Linked DNA regions of Homo sapiens: all the other regions are linked to region 2. Evidence: promoter capture Hi-C in human tissues and cell types (Jung and others, 2019). All regions are on one chromosome and are shown on one strand. The core of a region is centred on a gene start or on the middle of the fragment in contact, and the rest is flanking DNA. Distances in the headings are between cores, read along the strand shown. Region 1 has its middle 210 kb from the start of SS18. Region 2 holds the start of ZNF521 (zinc finger protein 521). Region 3 overlaps LOC105372029 (a long non-coding RNA gene). Region 4 overlaps LOC105372028 (a long non-coding RNA gene). Region 5 has its middle 61 kb from the start of LINC01915. Region 6 has its middle 220 kb from the start of SS18. Region 7 overlaps LOC105372028 (a long non-coding RNA gene).

Evidence for each region. Contacts are between HindIII fragments. The study calls those that stand out against the background at their distance.
Region 1: a contact is called between a fragment that was not itself captured here and the fragment with the promoter of ZNF521 in region 2, in 1 of the 25 tissues and cell types used here (H1 embryonic stem cells).
Region 3: a contact is called between a fragment that was not itself captured here and the fragment with the promoter of ZNF521 in region 2, in 4 of the 25 tissues and cell types used here (H1 embryonic stem cells, hippocampus, mesendoderm cells and 1 more).
Region 4: a contact is called between a fragment that was not itself captured here and the fragment with the promoter of ZNF521 in region 2, in 1 of the 25 tissues and cell types used here (hippocampus).
Region 5: a contact is called between a fragment that was not itself captured here and the fragment with the promoter of ZNF521 in region 2, in 1 of the 25 tissues and cell types used here (mesendoderm cells).
Region 6: a contact is called between a fragment that was not itself captured here and the fragment with the promoter of ZNF521 in region 2, in 1 of the 25 tissues and cell types used here (IMR-90 fibroblasts).
Region 7: a contact is called between a fragment that was not itself captured here and the fragment with the promoter of ZNF521 in region 2, in 2 of the 25 tissues and cell types used here (IMR-90 fibroblasts and neural progenitor cells).

The regions. Positions count from the first base shown.
Region 1 is chr18:25,883,946-25,886,711 of GRCh38, reverse strand. No RefSeq gene overlaps it. Among named protein-coding and RNA genes, the nearest start is that of SS18, 210 kb to the left of the region's middle. The HindIII fragment of the contact is 5,297 bases long and covers 1-2,766 here.
Region 2 is chr18:25,350,735-25,353,702 of GRCh38, reverse strand. ZNF521 (zinc finger protein 521) reads left to right here and starts at 1,537. Exons shown (of 8, transcript NM_015461.3): 1 at 1,537-1,698; 2 at 2,756-2,796. The coding sequence starts at 2,757. RefSeq lists a silencer at 1,442-1,511. The HindIII fragment of the contact is 6,455 bases long and covers 539-2,968 here.
Region 3 is chr18:24,799,458-24,802,295 of GRCh38, reverse strand. LOC105372029 (a long non-coding RNA gene) reads right to left here. Exons shown (of 3, transcript XR_935298.2): 3 at 1,950-2,297. Among named protein-coding and RNA genes, the nearest start is that of LINC01915, 170 kb to the right of the region's middle. The HindIII fragment of the contact is 5,844 bases long and covers 1-2,838 here.
Region 4 is chr18:24,737,756-24,740,503 of GRCh38, reverse strand. The region is part of intron 2 of LOC105372028 (a long non-coding RNA gene); the gene reads right to left. Among named protein-coding and RNA genes, the nearest start is that of LINC01915, 110 kb to the right of the region's middle. The HindIII fragment of the contact is 3,952 bases long and covers 1-2,748 here.
Region 5 is chr18:24,566,021-24,568,747 of GRCh38, reverse strand. No RefSeq gene overlaps it. Among named protein-coding and RNA genes, the nearest start is that of LINC01915, 61 kb to the left of the region's middle. The HindIII fragment of the contact is 8,725 bases long and covers 1-2,727 here.
Region 6 is chr18:25,866,688-25,869,523 of GRCh38, reverse strand. No RefSeq gene overlaps it. Among named protein-coding and RNA genes, the nearest start is that of SS18, 220 kb to the left of the region's middle. The HindIII fragment of the contact is 4,091 bases long and covers 1-2,836 here.
Region 7 is chr18:24,758,769-24,761,898 of GRCh38, reverse strand. All of the region lies in intron 2 of LOC105372028 (a long non-coding RNA gene), which reads right to left. Among named protein-coding and RNA genes, the nearest start is that of LINC01915, 130 kb to the right of the region's middle. The HindIII fragment of the contact is 6,342 bases long and covers 1-3,130 here.

The sequences.
Region 1 (2,766 bases), core at 194-2,693, 530 kb before region 2:
TGATATGTTTCTCTAGGTTTGGGAAGTTCTCTATTATTATCCCTTTGAATAAAATTTCTACCCCAATTTCTCTCATTTCTCTCTTTACTTCCTCTGTAAGGCAATAACTCTTAGATTTGCCTTTTTGAGTCTATTTTCTAGATCTTATAGGCATGCTTTATTCTTTCTTATTCTTTTTTTCCTTTGTCTTCTTTGACTGTGTATTTTCAAATCACCTGTCTTCAAACTCACTAATTCCTCCTTCTGCTTAATCTATTATGCTGTTAAGAGATTCTGATGCATTCTTCAATATGTCAATTGCATTTTTTAGCTCCAGAATTTCTGTTTGATTCTTTTCAATTATTTATATCTCTTTGTTAAATGTATCTGATAGGATTCTGACTTCCTTCTCTATGTTATCTTGGATTTCATTGAACTTCCTTAAAACAGCTATTTTGAATTCTCTGTCTGAAAGGTCACATATGTACCTCTGTCTTTCCAGGATTGACCACTAGTGCTTTATTTAGTTTGTTTGATGAGATCATGTTTTCCTGCATAGTCCTGATGCTTGTGGGTATTTGTTGGTGCCTAGGCATTGAAGAGTTAGGTATTTATTGTAGTTTTCACAGTCTGGGCTTGTTTGTACCTGTTCTTCTTGGGAAGGCCAGATATTCCAAGAGACTTGGGTGTTGTGATCTAAGTTTTTGGTCACTGAAGCTGTATTTGCTTTAGGGGGCAACCAAAACCCAGTAATGCTGTGACTCTTGCAGACTCATAGAGGTACTGTCTTGGTTGTCTTGGGTAATATCAGGGAGAATTCCCTGGATTACCAGGCAGAGACTCTTGTTCTGTTCCTTTACTTTCCCCCAACAGAGTCTCTCTCTCTTTCTGTGCTGAGCTGCCTGGAGCTGAGGGTGGGGTGACACAAGAACCCTTGTGGCCACCACCACTGGGACTGCATTGGGTCAGGCCTGAAGCCAGCACAGCACTGGCTCTCACCCAAGGCCCACAGTGACTACTGCCTGGCTACTGCCAATGTTCACTCAAGGCCCTAGGGCTCTACAATCAGCAGGTGGCAAATGCAGCCAGCCTTGTGTTTTTCCCTTCAGGGTAATGAGTTCCCCTCACCCCCAGGTGGGTCTGTAGATGCCATCCAGGAGCCAGGGCCTGGAGTTGGGAACCTTTGGAATCAACCTGCTACTCTATTCTACTACAGCTGAACTGGCATCCAAGCTGGATGACTAAGTTATTCCCACTCTTCCATCCTCTTTCCTAAAGCAGAAGAGTCTCTCCCCATACCCATCACTAACCCAGGCCCACAGTAAATACTGCCTGGCTACCACCAATGTCCACTCAAGGCCCAAGGCTCTTCAGTAAGCTTGTGGTGAATGCTGCCAGTCTTGAGTTTCTCCTTTAAGGGCAGTGGGCTCCCCTTTGGCTCAGGGCAGGTCCAGAAATGCCATCCAGGGGCCAAGGCCTGGATTCGAGGACCCCAGGAGCCCACTTGCTCCTCTACCCCACTGCAGCTGAGCTGGAACCCAAGCTATAAGACAAAGGCCCCTTGACCCTTCCCTCTTCTTTATTCAAGATGAAGGGTTCTTTCTCCATGGCCACCACAGCTGAGAATGTGCTGGGTCATACCTGAAGCCAGCATAGCTCTGAGTCCCACCCAAGGCCCATGGCAAGTACTCCTGGCTACCACTGGTCATTATTCAGGGCCCAAAGACTTTTTGGTCAGCAGGTAGTGAATTCTGCCAGGACTGAGTTGTTTCCTTCAAGGCAGTGGGCTTGCTTCTGGCCCAGGGCATGTTTGGAAATGTCATCTGAGAGCTAGGGCCTGGAATGAAGGAAGGCCTCATGACTCTGCCTGGTGCTCTATTCTTCTGTGGCTGAGCTGGTATCCAAGTTGCAAGGCAAAGTCCTCTTCACTCTCTCCTCTCCTCAAGCAGAGGGAAGGAGTCTTTTTTGGAGCTGCAAGCTGTGCTGGCTGGGACTGGGGAAGGGGCGACACAAACACTCTTTTGCCTCACTAGGCTGATGTCTCACTATAGCACCAGGACTTGCCCTGGAATTTCAGTCCTTGTGGACTTGACTGCCTTTCAAGTTTATTTAGAACCCCAGAGCACTTTAGCTCATGGTGGCAGGACTTGCCAGAACTCAGTTTCTGACTGGTGGGATGAGTAATCCCCCTCTGGTGAGGGCTGGTCTGTATGCTCTCTCCATGGTTGCTGGCTGAGCTCTGCCCCGTGTTTCTTTCCGCTGTGATGGGGCAGAACTGAGTTCCAATCCAAAGACCCACAATCACTGTGCTCTCCCTCCCTCAACCACGCAGATTGTCTGCACAATGCCGCTGCTGCTGGGGGCTGGGGAGGGGTGGTGTAGGCAATTCAAGACTGCCTTACCTACCCTTTCCTTCATATGATATTGAAACCAGGTACTGTGATCACTCACCTGAAATTTGGTTCTTATAAAGGTGCTTTTTTTGTGTGTGGAAAGTTGTTTAATTTGGCGTTCCTGCAGGGGAGCTGATTGCTGGAGGTTTCTATTTGGCCATCTTGCTCTGCTTCCCTTCAGTGGGTAAGATTTTTGAAGATGGACTTTTATAAGCATGTAAAGGTGCACTGAACAAAAACAAAATGCCACTTTTTGCTTTAATTTTCCCCCCTACTCTTCCCCCCCTATTCTTTGGCACAGGGTAAAAAAAATGGTTGAACAGAGTAGTTTTTTTAAAAAAAGGCAGAAGAAAGAAAAATAACCCTGTAAAATTGAAGTTTGCATTGTATTCAC
Region 2 (2,968 bases), core at 288-2,787:
TACACATTTTTCCCTTTCTGAATGATTTCTGTGAAAATGAATGTATAAGGTTATGTATAAAATCTAGAATCCTTAATGTACCAACACAGATTCTGCAACAAAAGTTGCTTTATTTCACAGTCATGCAAAGTTAAATTTGACTACAACTATGATTTCACTTTAGGAATTACTGCAGATGGATTGAAAACTCATTTAATTATAATGAAGATATTGAAAAAAAACATACTGTATTTGCAGCTATCCACATGAGGGTCCAGGCAGTTTACAGGTTAGACTGGAAAAAATACAACTTCCTTAAAGCTTTGATGTCTTTGCATGGTGGCTTAATAGATAGCTGTACCTTAATTTTACAGAACGGAGAATTTTTAAAATCTGATTAAGAACAATAGTATTTGTACAAAATTCTGCCTGTTTTGTGTAATTAACCGTATTCTGAATCTCTTAATTTCCACCAAGACTTGTGAATCTAAGCTCTACTTGGTAGCCCTCTCAGGCATTTATAACTTGACAAGCGTGTCCAATCAATAAATAGCAACAACAATAATAATACTAAAACATCCTTTCCCTTAAGATAAGGTAAAAGAAGGAAACAGGTGATGGTTTCTTGTTTTGCGATGGGAGCAGGTGAAAAGTTAGAAAACAAAACTGCGAAAAGAAACAAAAATTCCCACCGACCTGCAGACATTTCAATTTATTTTAGAAACTATTTTCTTGTACACATATTCTTAAGTGCATATTTCCTTACCTCTTGCTTAAAGAAAAAATCAACAGAAAGCTTTATTTTCTGGACAAAGATCTATGTCAATTTGAGAATGTTAAAAAAGTGAACTCAAAGCTGTCTCTTTTGAATCACATTATGACATTCGTCAGCATCAATGACTTTCTCTAAACGAGAAAATAAAAAAAAAGTCCAAATAACTTGCCTTTATAAAGATTCCAAGTAAGAGAGACTTGGCAGGTCTGCGGTTGCCATAAAAAAGATTTCCCGAGTCCGGGCAACAACAGCAGACACACTTTTTTAAAGTCCGACAATGCAAAAGCCAAGCAATGAATTTCCCCCCTCCTTTCTTTTTCTTTTTCTTTTTCTTTTTTTTTTTTTTTTTTTTTGCCCCCTCAAGAACAAATTGTTGCCTCCTTTTACATCCATCCTACCAGAAGGGGGACCTTTCCACTTTCAGATGCTCCTCTGCTTTAATTTCTGAAGAGGAAAAAAAGCGAGCAGAAGAGCCCCGAGATCCGCCGTGGAGCTCTAATAACGCAGCTGCGGCGGCGGCGACGGCGGCGGCGCGGGGTGTGCGAGCGGCCGGGCGGGCGGCGCGAGGGGCGGCGGCGCAGGAGCGGGCGGGGCGCGCGGCGCGTGGGAGGCGGCGGCGGCGGCGGCGGCGGCGGGCGGGGCTCGGGGCGCTCGGCCGCCGCCTGGCTCCGGATCCGCGCGCCGCGGCCGGCGCCTCCAGTCCGGGTCTTGGCGGGCCCCCTCCTCCCTCCCGCTCCCCGCGCTCTCGCCTTTTAATCATGCCCCTCTGTCTGTGTGTGAGTGCAGGCAGGCTGACAATGATTTCCTCAGTGATTACGTACAGAGCGAGTCCCTGCGGGTTAGGGGCCCCCTCTGGAGCCATCCTGATGGCTTTGGGGGCCTTGCTTCCATTTTCCATTATTATGTGGACTACCGGAGCGACAGCGCAGTCCAAGACCTTGCAGGTTTGTGATGAGGAGGGAGCACACAGCACACTCCTTCTCCTCCTCCTGCTCCCGGCTCTCCTCCTCCTCCTCCTCCTGCTCTCGCCGCCGCTGCCGCCGCCGCTGCCGCCGCTGCTGCCGCCGCCGCTGCCGAGGCAGCCGTAGACTTTAGAGCCCCGGTCCAGCGCCAGCCGCCGGCGCCGCGCCCCCGCCCAGAGAGGGGCGCCCCGAGCCCGGGCCCCGCACACCCCCTGCACACAAGCAGCCCCGCACACCACCTGGGGGCCGTCGGCTCGGGTGCTTTGGCTTTTTCTTTTTGAAAGAAATTACTTTAGTGTGGGTTAAGAAAAAAAGGGTGGGGGGAAGGGAGAAAAAAAGTATTTTTTTCCCTTTGCTTATTTTCGTGGCCCGTTCGCATCTGCCTCGGATGGTGGGAGATTTTTCTTTCCAAGACCTTTTCATCGCCTTGCAGGGTCGATTTCCCCCCCTCGTCCCCCCAACTACAAAAGAGCACGACTCGCTTTGTAAACAAATCAGTGTTATTTGTTTTTTTCCGGTGGGGGGGGGGGCGGATTTGTTGAAAAGGAAAAGCGGTAAAGAAAAAAAAAATCACCCAGACGCTTTTCTTTTTATTAGTTTTTTTCTATTCGCATGAACTATGTGAATTTTGATTGAGGTGGAAATAGTAACGGATTTTCTCTTTTTAGTGTAGCTGACGGCTCTTCAAACATTGTCTTTGGGGTTTTTTTTTTAGCTTTTTTTCCCTCCTTTCCTTTTTTCTTTTTCCTTTTTTTTTTTTTTTCTTGGAGATTGGGGGTGGGGGTCGAAGGCTGGGAAAGTTTGGTGCAGCAGCCGCCGCCGCCGCCGCCGCCGTCGTGCAGAGCGCGGAGCTCGGGCAGCCGCGAGCCCCGCGCGCGAGCGCGAGCCGGAGCCGGAGCGAGGAGCGGAGCGCGGAGCGAGGGCGCGAGGGAGGCCGAGCGGAGGGCGCGAGGCGCCGCGGCCCGAGGGGCGCGCGGCCACGAGGAAGTATAGTTTCTTTCAGGGCTGAATTGAAACAACTTCAGCTGTTTGCTTTTAGGATGTCTCGCCGCAAGCAAGCGAAACCGAGATCCCTCAAAGGTAAGGAGGAACCCCCTGCTCCCCGCTTTCCCCCATCCGCGAGTGTCACTGTGGGTAGCGGAGCGAGGGCTGCGTGGCTGCGAGGCGTGTGCGCGCGTGAGTGTGAGTGTGAGTGCGGGGGCGCGCGCGCTCCCCTCCCCGCTGAGCCCCTAGGTGGAGTGAGGGTGAGGTG
Region 3 (2,838 bases), core at 212-2,711, 550 kb after region 2:
CTGATGGGTCCAAATCTGTATGAGGCTTTCTGACTGTTAAGTGAAACCCACCATCTTATTTTCTAATCCTTTCTGCCAAAATTTAAATTACCAGCCTCCTGTGTTCTCTTTTTTGTAATTCTCTTTTAGAGGCCTTATCTCAATTTGTAGGTGTTCATTATAATATATATTTATTTATCTGCATGTTTTACATCTGGGGCCACTGACTAGTCGGTAAGTAACGAGAGGTCATAAGACTTTCTGTTTTGTTCACCACTGTATCTCCAGTACCTGAACAGTGTGTGCACTCTGCAACTATTTAATAAAAACTTATTGTTGAATTTAGTTGCAATCAGGATGAATGCCCCTTTTGACCTTCCTTATCTAAGTAGGTGGTTTATTCCATGGTACCCTTCCAGCATGGCATATTCAACCCCTTCCCATGGTCTGCAGGCCTATTCCTGGTCCATTATGAAACTTACCTTTTCAATCCTCATTTATACAATACTGTTTTGAAAATTTTGACTTCAGCACAAAAAGGTAATTATTTTACAGCACAAATCATAATGAAACGTGTTCCTTATCAGAAAAGGAAGAGATCAGAAAGAGGATTGTTTTCAATCACCATAGTAACTTCCTACCTTCCCAAATACAGCCCAAGAGAAGGGCCCAGAACATTCCTTGAATGGTGTTCTAGGCTCACTGAGCTTGGATGGTGGATGGAAAGCAGTGAGGATGTTCCCAAATCTAAGTCCTCTCAGTAAAAAGGTACAGCCTGCAGACAGCCTTTCCCACTGAAATCTTCTGACCAACACGAATGAGGACTCTCCTGCTCCTCTCTGCCTGAAGCTAGGACTTGTTTGTGTGTGTCTTTGGTGTCTGAAAAATTGATCCTTCACTTTGGGTCACATATCCTAGCACATGGTTCCCATGGAAATTCATGTCTCCTGGAGTCACATGAATTTCTTCAAGCGCCCTGGAGTCATCTGTCATCTTCTCAACCCCCCCTTTCCTTTTTTACTGGGCTCAATGTGCTCAACTTCACCCTGACTGAACAGTCCTGGACTCTTAAAACTAGTAACATTCCTTGGCTGCCTGGGCACTAACATCACATAAGCTCCAACCCAATGCTCCCCAAACCAAGACCAGGCCTCCTAGGCTAAGAGAAACTAACCACTTATCATGCCTTAAGAGTGTTTCTGATTTTGATGGGTAAAGAGAATATTTTCAATATGACAGCTGTGTTCCTCTTTTCTGAGTACACTATTTGAGACTAACATGCATACTTGTGGCTCTTTGATGTAAAATTGTCTACATTTTTAAGTGTCATTCAATCCTTTTCATTTCCTTATTGCATATATACTCCAACCTTTTTAAGTTTCTTAAACAAATTCTAAGGAGAATTCCTTCCTCAGACTAGTGGGTGGCCAAGCTGATTTCTGATTCAGTTGGCCCATGGTGGAGACCAGGCATCAGAACTGTTTTAAAACCATCCAGGTGATTCTAGTTCTCCAGGTGATTCGAATGGGGATGAGATCCATTGATCTGGAGAAGGACATCTCAAACTTTAAGGTGTTTAGGAATCACCTGGAACATTATTAAACTGAAGATTCAGTAGCTCATGGATGGATCTTGAGATTCCGCATCTTTAATAGTAGATATTATTCTGTCATGTAATAAAAAAATTATTCAAAATAATATAATTATTATTGTCTAAAAATCACATAATTATTATTATCCCAGAATTCCCAATCTTTGGAGAACACTTCAAGTAAGAAGGTTATTTAAATGATGTAAGGCTATTTAAATATGAAGTTGTTTTTTAACTTTGTAAAGTAAAATTAAATGAAAGTGAAAAAATTTAAATTTTCAGTCCTGCTAGCTACATTTCAAGTGCCCTGTGGCTACTGTCTTGAACAGGGCAGGGACAGAAACATTTCCAGCACAGAGAGTTCTACTGGGCAGTGCCATGCTGGATTCTTCATTCCCTGTATTTCAACTTGCAAGAAACTACATTCACCAAACCTGCAGGTAATGCATTTCTGCAGTACCCATGGGGGTTAATGACACATACATTTTGTCTGCATTTTTGCTTTGGACTCTTAAAGATGGAACACACACCAGAAACCTTTGATCTCAGGACCGGTTTTTAGCCAAATAATTAATGTATAGTATTATTGGTTTTGTTGCTGCTGTTTAGTTAAAGCAAACTTTATTGAAGATTGAGTTGAGTTCATGCATGCTCTCTGGTTATTTTGAAACTTCTTTTTAGGAAGGACTTGCCAGTTTCTCTTGCCAATCTATTTTACTGGCATTACCTGAAAAACAACTGTGTCATAGTATTTGTTTACCTTCTCTCCACTCAGGTCTAGCCACCTACTTCCCCCTTCCTTTAATTCATTCAACAACGTCAATGTAGAGTACTCCGAGTCCAGCACTCTGTGGCTGCTATGGGAGTTAAGGAAGAAATAGCAAATGGCACTTCCCCCTCACCGAGTTTATAATTGAATAGAGGACCTGTGATGAGACAAGCAAAACTCAAAATCTCATTAAGTTGCTAGCAGAGGCTAGCGAGTGGTAACACATTAAAACATTAAAACAGATTAGTTTCTCATATTAGCCAGCTATCACTGAGCAAAGGGCAGGCTCCAATAAAATGGTACACGGGAGAGGTAGGATTTAATGGAGGGGTAGGGGAGGCCAAGGTAAAGGCAGGCAGGGGCTAAGATATGGAAGGACTGCAGTGGGAGTAGGGTACAGCTCTATGGAGGAAAGGACTTGGGGAAGGCAGGCAGAGTCTGACGGACAGAGAGAGCACAGCAGGGTAAGAGGCATGAAAGAGGAACTGTGCAGCAAAAT
Region 4 (2,748 bases), core at 241-2,740, 610 kb after region 2:
AGACAGGAGGAGGCAAAGAACTTTTCCTGGGTCTGCAGGTTCCCAATTGTCTTTAACTCAAAATAATCCTTATACCAAAGTGGCACATTTCAAGATGGCATATTCTGGTACCGTTCATCCCTAAAACCACCAGCATGGTCAGGCTGGTGCCCAGAGAGAACCTTCTGAGGGGAAAGTTTTGTGGTTTTCTCAAAGGCACACATAATGCTGGCCCTTGAAAAGCAAACCTGCAAAACAGAGGTAAACATGGAGGATGACCAGGGTCGGGGAAGGAGACTACTGTACGGGGTGAGAGTACAGGGGAAAATAATGCCAAGCCATGCAGGAAAAAGTGGGAAATACCTGCAGGAGACTGGCGGCTTTGGCTTCTCCCTAATCTGCCAGGGTTCTCCAGGGACAGCTTGTTACAGGAGGAATTTCCCAAATGACATCAGCCCTATCTGACACAGAGAAGGCTTGGAGCAGACACCTGAAGGAGAGGCATTCAGTTGATTGACTCAATAACTGAGTTGTGGAGGTGAAGCTGATCGAGAAGAGTTCAAGGGGAGCCAAGAAGAAGTGATACAATGGAAACCAGAAAGGAAAAGCGCAGTGGTCAAGGACAGATAGGAAAGTCAAAAATAAGGTGCACCCTAAAAAGATCTTAGAAAACTGCCTTCTGATATTTCGACTGTAAAAACGACTGGGCACATATAAGAGCAGAGATAGGCAAACTCACCTTAAGGAAACAGACTTGCATCAGGTTAGCACAAGTGAGTCAATATATTAATATAGCTACAGAAATCGTGTGTAAAACAAAGAGAGGTTGTTTGGCAAGAGAAATTTTGTAAGTGTTAAGTTGCTTGAGCGAGGAATGCAAGCATTTGAAGAACAAATCAGTACATCAAGAACTAAGAGACCCAGACCCAAGTTAACCTGCTCCTTTAAGGAGAAGGAGCGAATGAATTATTCTTCACTTGTAAGATGTGAGCAAGTCTGGCATCCCTCAGGCCTCCAGGAATCCCAATTACCTGCTCTGCACTAGATCACAAGCCTGGAGCTCCTACAAGTTGCCATGAAGAGGACTTGAACCTACAGTTGTGGTGACCGCTACTCTCCCCAAGGTCTCTTCTTGCTCTCCAGGTGGAAAAGCGCATGCTCAGGTCTTGCTTCTCATCTCAATTTTCATTAGTGGAGAAAATTTTAAATGATGATCATAATTCAGTGATAGCCATTTCAAACTCTTTCACTGCTAGAGAATGCTAGAATATCTTAAAGCAGGAGGTAAGAGCTGGCTTTCACCTCTCCATCAGAAAACCAAGCAGTTAACATCATTATCATTTGACGAACCATTACCACCACTGCCACGTGATAGTGGAAATTTAAACTGACACTTCTCACTTGCTTCATTAGTAAACCATGTAAGCACTTAATAATGATAATCTGTATTTTATTTTTGCCTTGGTCCTAGAATTCTTCTCATCCTCTGTGCTTTCCAGCAGGAAGTAGATGCAGTCCCTGGTACACTTGTAAGTTTCACAACCAAACCTATTTAAACACAGATGTGCTAGTGGATTGATTTCCTTCTCTTTTCTGGTACAAAATAAAGTAACAGAAGGGGAAGGAGAGAAAGGAACTGATAAAATATCCAATTCAACCCAGAGAAGCACACTGTCTAAAGAGGCAGCTTTGTTCTGCCAATGGCCCATATCTCAAGCAGATACTCCAGAACAGAATAAATTTCTCTAACTCAAACTTCCAACATGTGGCATATATACCTTTATCATCCTACCAGATTCCAATAAGCTTCACTCTTAGGATGTCAGTTCTGTTCCAGGAAAATGTTACCACAGTTAGGTGAAGAAGAAAAGCACTATCTTTGATCCTTTGCTAAGTTACTGAGACCCGACGCATAGACAGTACCAAAGATGACCAGGCACACAACCGCCCTGAATGGAGACAGTTGTGGAGCCTCTGTGGATACAATACAAATAACCAACAATACAGGTTACTGATTTCATAAAGCCAATACCTGCCAATCCTAGTATTACGTACATGACAGATCAATGGGTTATCACACTGGATCATGAAGATGAAGTAGAGTTTATTTAGAAGGAATAAGAACAGGTAATGGGCATCTCTTCCACGTTGAGTAGCAGCATGTTATTTGAGCCACCTCTCCTTCTCTACCCACCTGCTTTCTCCTCCAGCTCCAGGGCTAGGTCTTGTTGGCATAAGCCAATTAGCACCCAACACTCCCTAGACATCCAATTTAGCAATTAGTTGAGATATAGAACTTAAATTAATTCAACAAAGAAATGCCTGGGGTTTATTTTCATGGTTTTGAGACATCTCTTCCCACCCCCCAGCCCCCACCCCCACACACACACAAAAAAGCTCACTTGTGTTTTCTCTCTCTCTCTGTCTCTTCATGGATAATGAGTTACATTGCCACACCAATGGCATTGGCACCTATTCTGTGACTATGAAGGGATCCAGTCCTAATATGAAGCTGATAATGTAAAAGGTGGAACAGAGAGAAGGAAAGAGACTGGGTCCTGGTTTATGCTTTTGGACCATTGAAGACACCCTGAAGATACCCTACTTACAGACTATGCAAATACGGGAGCCAAAAATTGTGTTTTATTGTTTAACCCAGTGGGAATGGGGGTTTCTGTCCCTTAGAACCAAAAGCATCCTGGCTGACACTCAGAAGACAAGTCAGAACACAACTCACTTGGGCCCAGCAGGAGAGGGGATCCCTCTCTT
Region 5 (2,727 bases), core at 61-2,560, 780 kb after region 2:
CATGGCAAAATCCCATCTCTACTAAAAATACAAAATTAGCCAGGCATGGTGGTGCATGCCTGTAATCCTAGCTACTCAGGAGGCTGAGGCAGGAGAATCGCTTGAAACCTGGAGGCAGAGGTTGCAGTGAGCCGAGATCACACCATTGCACTCCAGCCTAGGCGACAGAGAGAGACTCTGTCTCAAAAAAGAAAGAAAGAAAGAAACAAAGATAGGTGGCCTCGAGGACCCTGGTCTGGTCTTAGGTGATAATGTCCCCATATATTAACCACATATTTTCTGTATTCGGATGACTTGACATCTGGGGTCTTGCTGACTTTGGAGAGACTGCCTCTCCCAGGATTAGCCAGTTCCTAGAGAGAGTAAACAACCCTCCTGAGAGCTGCTTTTCAAATACAAACCAATCCAGAGCCAAAGCCCCCACCACCTCTTCTACCAGCTCTCACACTCTGGGCCACTACCCCCTGCCTTAATCACCCCACAGCCAGGTACCAGACAACTAGGGACAGTACCTATGACCCAGAGCCCATTGAAATTCTTCAAGCTACCCTAAAATTATCCAAAATCTGCTTAACCTCTCTTGCCCATTCCTTCCACAGAAACCACAATAAGGGCTCTGTGAACAGCTCCTCCCTCTCCATCTATCTCCTGACACACCCTGGTCCTTCCCCATGTGCCCCCACCTCCGACCCCACTTCCCACCAGCATGGTGTGCCCCCTCTTCTTAGGAACTGGTAGTAAATATGTATATATTTAGACATGATCTGTCACCCAGGCAGAAGTGTGGTGGCGTGATCATAGCTCACTGTAACCTCAAAGTCTTAGGCCCAAGCAATGCTCCTCACTCAGCTTCCCAAGTGGCTGGGACTACAGGCACACACCACCACACCTGGCTAATTTTTTTTTTCTTTTTTACTTTTTATAGAAACAGGGTCCCATTATATTGCCCAGACTGGTCTTGAACCCCTGGCTTCATATGATCCTCCTGCTGTGGCCTCCAAAAGTGCTGGGTTTGCAGGCATGAGCCACCATGCCTGGCCTAAGGCACTCTATTTTAAAACACCCCAGTCTGGCAGAATCTCACTCCTTGGGAGACAGAAAAAGGAGACACTATGTAAAGCAGACCCAGAGTGGGCAGAGTGGGGCTGTACACGAGAACGGAGGCCATGTTGTGGCCTAACAAGGATCTCCTCTGGCTTGAGATCAAGTGGGAAAGTCTCTCTTATACTCCTGAAAGAAGCACAAGAGTGCATGAGTCATGGCCCCTCTCTTCCCCAACCCAGCCCCCAGCCAGGTCGACTCACTGATACCCTTAGGCCAAGAAACAGAGCTGGGTTCTCACTCCACTGTCTCCACTGCAGGGGATGGGAAAGGAAGCTCCAGGCCCAGAATGAGGGCCTGAGTCATGGGCTTACAGCACTGTTCCTTCCCTACAAGCTGCACTCAGACACGCAACACTATTGATATCACAGACATTATTTTAACAATAGCTTCTAAGACAATTAAGTCAGTGAACATCTGTGCCTGAGGAACCCTAGGCAGGGTGTGTAAGTGGGTGGGACAGAGGTGACTGAACATATCAACACTATTAAAAGAGGTAAGAATTAGCAGAGGCACTTAGAGTGATTTCCAAGTGTTGTTAAAGGTGATCAAAGCCTTTTCTTCCTCAATAAGACCTTTACTGTGCTGTGAGTTATCACGATTAAGCAGTGGGTAGCAAATAAAATGCCCTGGCTCTTTGCAAAGTGAAGCAAGGAAATTGTGAAACTGGGTTTCAACAAGCAAGGTTTTCAAACTCCTCCCAGCAAAGTTATCGGAACCCTAGATTCTGAGGCAGTGTGAGTATGGAGACGCGCACACTCCACTGTGTCCACTCTAAAGAGTTGAGGCGGAAATGGGAAATGCCAGGACAGGGCATCTGAGCCAAGGCCTGCAAGGCACAGATGGGTGCAATGAGGCCCAAGAGGTAATGAGATGTGGTTGAGGCCACACAGGTGGGGAGAGGCAGAGTCACGCCGGACACTTGTAGGGTGGCCTGTTTCCAGGTCAGTGGGCATTTTTGAGTGGGGGCACATGTAACCTTGGAGTTCCTTCCGCTACTCACCCCACTTATTGGGCTGCCATTCCCAGGAGACAGCGCAAGCATGCCAGGCTCTTTGCATTTGACCTTCATGATGTGAACAGGCAGCCCTCTCCCAGGAAGTCCAGGTGAGGTGGCTGATTCTGCTGGCTACCATAGCACTCAACTGGTGACATGGCCTTTCTCTCTCCTCGTCTACAGTGGCTGGCTGCAGCTGCACGGAGAGCCCAGATTTTCACTTAGTTATCTTTGTATTCTCAGTGCCCAATATCATATCTGGTACTTATTTCACAAATACTGGATGAATGCATGACAGCAGGGGAAGGAGACAGAGAGGAAGAAAGGAGTGAGGAGGAGGGACGGAGGGACGGAAGGAAGCTCTGTCCCAGGCATCTTGCCTGCCATCTTCCCCCACCCAAACTCACTTTCCCACTCCCTCAAGTCCCCTCTCTCTGCTTTATGATGTGCCATTCAAATTATCTGACAAACCAATTTTTACTAAGGAATAGTGAATTAGAATGGCAAATTAACCTCTCAGCAAACTTTAAACAGAAATATATATAGGCCATATATATCTAAATAAAAATCCATATATATATTAAACATTAAAGATTAAACATTTAATCTTTGCTAGTAAAAGCAAATGG
Region 6 (2,836 bases), core at 138-2,637, 520 kb before region 2:
GACTCTACTAAAAATACAAAAAATAGCCTGGTGTGGTGGTGGGTGCCTGTAATCCCAGGTACTCAGGAGGCTGAGGCAGGAGAATCAGTTGAACCTGGGAGGTAGAAGTTGCAGTGAGTCGAGATGGTGCCACTGCATTTCAGCCTGGGCGACAGAGCGAGACTCTGTCAAAAAAAAAAAAAAAAAAAAATCCTTAAGAATCACTGGAATTTCAAAGACAGACTTTTCCCAAGTCATACTATCTGAAACACTACTGTTGATCATTCCAAAACACAACGGTTATGAGACCCATTTTACAGGTAGAGAAAATAAGAGAAAAAAAAAAAAAACTGATTCACTTCAGGCTACCCAAGTTAGTTATAGTGATAATTGTTTTTCAGATTTAGTAACCCAAATTTGCTTCTCCACATGACCTTAGTTTATTATATAACAAAATATTTCATTCTGTTTGGTTTTACGTCTGTAAATCTTTTCAGAGTCTGTTATTGTGGAAAAATATTTTAAAAGCTTCATGTTTCTGAGAAATGCTTTGGTGTATGGTCTTTACCAGAATTTCTCATTAGTGGCTTTGCACCAGATTGATGCTTCATACAGCTCAATTATTTGAATTTTAGCCTTTTGATTTTAAATTATCAGTTATTCCTTCATTTTTGTAAGGCATAGGGAAGGATTGTGGAAACGGGTAGATTATAAGGGCTGACTCTGAAATTGCAATTGACGTTGCTTCAGTTTCTGATTTGTTCAGCCCATTATAGTTTATTTCAGAGGGTTCTGTAGAAAACAAAGAAAACACCAATATAGGGCAAAAAGAAAAAAAAAAGCAGAAAACAAACCAAAAACAAAACCACAATAAAAACAAGCAAAGAAGGCAAAAACTCAGGGAGATAAAGACAGCCTCACTAATGAGTCCCCAACTGATTAAAAGTAAATACATTTCTATTCCTAGAAAAGTGTAAGTAACATTTGTTGCCACAAACTGTTTAGCTTTAGCAAAAATAAAGAGTTGCCCTCAAATTTGTTATGGGAGGACAGCAACACTGCAGCTAATTATTTCCCAGGTGCCTCTGGCCTGAATTTAAAAATGAGCTACTAACGGCAACACAGGAAATGGGCCCATCTTTGGCCCCAGCTTGACAGATAACTCATCATTATGTTTGTCTTTAAGGGGACTCTGCATCATGGTTGGGCATTGATTACATGCATGGTACCAACTAGATTCATGGGAGTTCCACAGTATAACATGGGGTTAAGTACTTGAGCTCTAGAGTAAAGGCCATCTGGGCTTGAATCTTAATCCTGCCTGTGTGACTTTTAGCAAAATACTTGTGTCAGTTAGCTTTGGCTGTGTAACAAACTATCCCAAAATTCAGTAGCTGAAAAAAATCACGATGTATTTGTACATGATTTGATGGGTTGACAGTTCAGCTGGGTTCAACTGGGACAGCATCATTTTGCTCCACACAGTGTTGGCTGGGCTCACTCACACGTCTAGGGCCTTGGGTAGGGCCCTTCTCTATGTCTTCTCTCTTCATCTAACAGGCTAGGCTGGGTTTTTTTATATGGTGGCTGAAAGTTCTCAGCAGCAAGAGAGGGTAAGCTCCAATGAGCAAGCATCTATCAAGCCTTGACTTATGTCTCATTTGCTATTGTCCCATGAAATAAATTAATTCACATGACTAAGACCAAATTTAAGGTTTAGAAGGCTGGATGCTGTGGCTCATGCCTGTAATCCCAATGTTTTTGGAAGCTCAGGTGGGAGTATGGCTTGAGGCCAGGAGTTTGAGACCAGCTCAGACAACATAGCAAGACCCCATCTCTTTTTTTTTATTATACTTTAAGCTCTAGGGTACATGTGCACAACGTGCAGGTTTGTTACATATGTATACATGTGCCATGTTGGTGTGCTGCACCCATTAACTCATTTACATTAGGTATATCTCCTAATGCTATCCCTCCCCCCACCCCACAATGAGTTCATGTCTTTTGTAGGGACATGGATGAAGCTGGAAGACCCCATCTCTTAAAAAAAAAATCAGCCAAGCATGATGGTGTGCACCTATAGTCTTAGCTACTTGGGAGGCTGAGGTGGGAGAATCCCTTGAGGCCAGGAGTTCGAGGCTGTAGAGAGCTATGATTGCACCACTGCATTCCAGCCTGGGCAACAGAGTAAGATTCTATCTCAAAAAAAAAAAAAAAAAAAAAAAAAAAGAATCCTAGAGAAATAGATGCCACTTTTTGAATAGGCATACATATAGAGAGCTGTGAATAAATTTGGGATCACAATAATAACAATTGGCCACACTCCTTTTCTAAGCTTCCAGATTCTCACTGGTAACATTAAAATATAATAGTACCTACTCACAGGGTGCTCAGCACAGGGCTCAATCAGCATAAGTTGTAATTATATTATAGCCAATTAAGAAAGGGAGAGAGAAAGAGAAACTAGGGAGAAGGAATAGAATGGAGGAAAGGGGTTGAGATTATGTCTTGAAGGTTGGGATGGGGAGGGCTCTATGGAGAGTATGTTGTTGATGCTACTATGAAGAACTAATCATTATTTGGGTCCTGGTTACCTGTTATCACTGAACTTTGTGGTTTTTATTAGCTCATTGACAATTTAGAAACAGTTCTTTCTATAGCAGGAAAACAGATTCTCGGTAATTTTAAACGTCGAGAGTTTTTTTCATCACAGTGACTATGTTTGGATGGTGGAACCACGGGTGGATTTTCTTTTCTCTATTTTATACATTTTTAATAATGGGATCTTATAGCTTGTATAACAAAAAGCATTTAAAATAGCTCAGTTTTAGAACAAAAATTCTTTCTTATTTTTCAG
Region 7 (3,130 bases), core at 162-2,661, 590 kb after region 2:
GAGGCATATGAAACATGATGAAAATAACTTTCATAAGTGTAGTTGTAGTCTATAAAGGAGAGAGATAATTGAACAGAAGAGACATTGTGAGAATTTTCCAAAACAAGCAAAAGATATTAGTAAACTGAAATTCTACAAATTCTGAGCAAAATAAATACAGATAAAGCTAACCCACAAACACTAAAAAGAGTATCTTATAAAGAGACAGAAAACAGACACATGATGTTCAGAGAGATACAATATCTATGGCTGAGTTTTCAATAGAAACAGTGAACAAAAATGTCTTTAAAGAGCTAAAAGAAAATTGTTGCCAACCTAGAATTGTGTACACAAGGAAAATAGCTTTCAAAAATAAAGGCTAAGCAGACAGTTTCAAATGAGCACTTAACAAGCAGGGACAACAACAACAATGGCACAAGGAAAATGACCCTAGATGAAAACATGTTATTGCAAGTAAAGACAGGCTAGAGGGAATTTTGTAGTCTTAAACGCATAAACTAGAAATGAAAAAAAAAAACTTACCATCTCTAACACAGGTATTCACATCAAGTTAGCAAAACTGCAAATTAACCCAAGAGAAAGAAGGAGGTAGGTAGGAGAAAAATAGAAATAAAAACAAAAATTATTGAAATAGAAAGGAATCATCTAATAGAAAAAAAGGCAACAAATCTTTGAAAATACTATTAAAATTAATAAATATTTAGCAAGGACTAATCAAGAAAAAAGAGAATGAGACACATATGACTAATACTAAAAACAAGAAAGAGGCTATCACTACAGATTCTGGAAATATTTAAAAAGAAGTTAATACAAACAAACTTATGATCCTAAACTTGACTAAATTTACTGGCTACATTTATGACTGTCACTTTGCAGAACTGTTGGACAATATAGACTAAGGCTAAACATAAGCGATTCCATAACCCAGCAATTTCTTTTCTAGGCAACTCAACGGAAATGTATGCATATATTCACTAAGATATGTAAAAATACGTTCTAGCATCAATATTTCTTTTTTTAACTTTCATTTTAGGTTCAAGGGTACATGTGCAGGTTTGTTATATAGGTAAACTTGTGTCACAGGCATTTGTTGTACAGATTATTTCATCACCCAGGTGCTAAGCTTAGTACTGAATAGTTATGTCTTCTGATCCCTCCCTCCTTCCACCCTCCACCCTCAAGCAGGCCCCAGTGTGTGCTGTTCCCCTCTTTGTGTTCTCATCATTTATAAGTGAGAAGATGCAGTATTGGTTTTCTGTTCCTGTGTTAGTTTGCTAAGGATAATGGCCTCCATCTCCATCCATGTTCCTGCAAAGGACACGATCTTATTCTTTTTTATGGTTGCATAGTATTCCATGGTGCATATATACCACATTTTCTTTATCCAATCTGCCATTGATGGCCATTTAGGTTGATTCCTTGCCTTTGCTATTGTGAATAGCGCTGCAATGAACATATGCGTGCATGTGTCTTTACGGTAGAACGATTTATGTTCCTTTGGTTACATACCCAGTAAGGGGATTGCTGGGTTGAATGGTAGTTCTGTTTGTAGCTGTTTGAGGAATCGCCACACTGCTTTCCACAATGGTTGAACTAATTTACACTTCTGCCAATAGTGTACAAGCATTCCCTTTTCTCTACAACCTTACCAGCATCTGTTATTTTTTTACTTTTTAATAATAGCCTTTATGACTGGTATGAGATGGTATCTCATTGTGGTTTGATTTAGCAGCAATATTTCTAATAGCCTTAAAAATACCCAAATTTCTTATTAAAACAGAATATATACATGAATTAGGGTGTATTATTAAAAATTAATACTATTGTCAGCAATGCAAAAAACAAACTATGCCACGTGTAATAATTAGGATGAATTTCAGAGATGTCTTATCTCACAGACATCCAAGAGAATATATTGCATGATTCCATTTGTATAAATTTCAAAAATAGACAAATATAATCTTTGGTGTAGAAGTCAGAATTAATGTTTTCTATGGGCAAAGGTGGGTAGTGGGCAGTGGAGAGGTAATAACTTACCAAGGGTATGAAATAGACTTTTGGGATGCTGATAATATACAGTGTTGATCTGGATGTAACTACATGAGATTTTCACTTTTCCAAAAGTTAAGCAAACTGTACACCTATGATCCGTGTACTTATATAAAAAAGCAAAGTGACTAGAATAGCTAAAATAATTTTGAAAAAGAAGATCAAAGTTGGAGTACTCACACTAACCTATTTTAAGACTTACTCTAAAGTGACAATCATCAAGACAGTGTTGTATTGGTGAAGAGCTAGACACATAAATCAATGGGCAACAATAGAAAGCCTAGAAATAGATCCACACAAATATGGCCGATTGACTTTAGACAAAGGTGCAAAGACAATTCATTAAAGAAAGCATAGTAGCTTTCATCAAATGATGCTGAAACAGTTGGAATCCACATGTTAGAAAATGAACCTTGACCTGTACCTCACGATTTAAACAAAAATTTAGATCATAGATCTAAATATAAAATATAAAACTATAGAACTTCCAAAAGAAAATCCTAGTAACCCTTGGGCTATGCAAACTTATTAAATAAGACACCAAAAGCACAACCTATTTTTAAAAAGAGACAAACATGGCTTTATCAAATACAAAAATGCTTGCTCTGTAAAAAACATTGTTAAGACAATGAAAAGGCAAGCTACAGATAATATTTACAAGTCATGTACCTTACAAAGGACTTGTATTCAGAATATACAAAGAACTCTCAAAACTCCACAAAAGAAACAACACCACTTACACATACACAAATGGGCAAAATATTTAAATAGGCATTTCACTAGAGAAGATATATTGATGACAAATAAAGACATGCTGTTCAACATAATTAGTTAATAGAGAAATGCAAAGTAAAACCACACCAGGACACCGTTACACACCTACTAAAATGACTAGAATAAAAAACAAACAAACAAAAAGATAGGACCAAGTGCTGGTAAGGATATAGAGAAACCAGGAGTCTCATACATTGCTGGTGGGAATGCAAAATAATACAGCCACTCTGGAAAACTATTTGTCAGTTTCTTATAAAGTTAAAATACACTTACCATATAACCCAGCAATCCCATACCTAGGTATTTA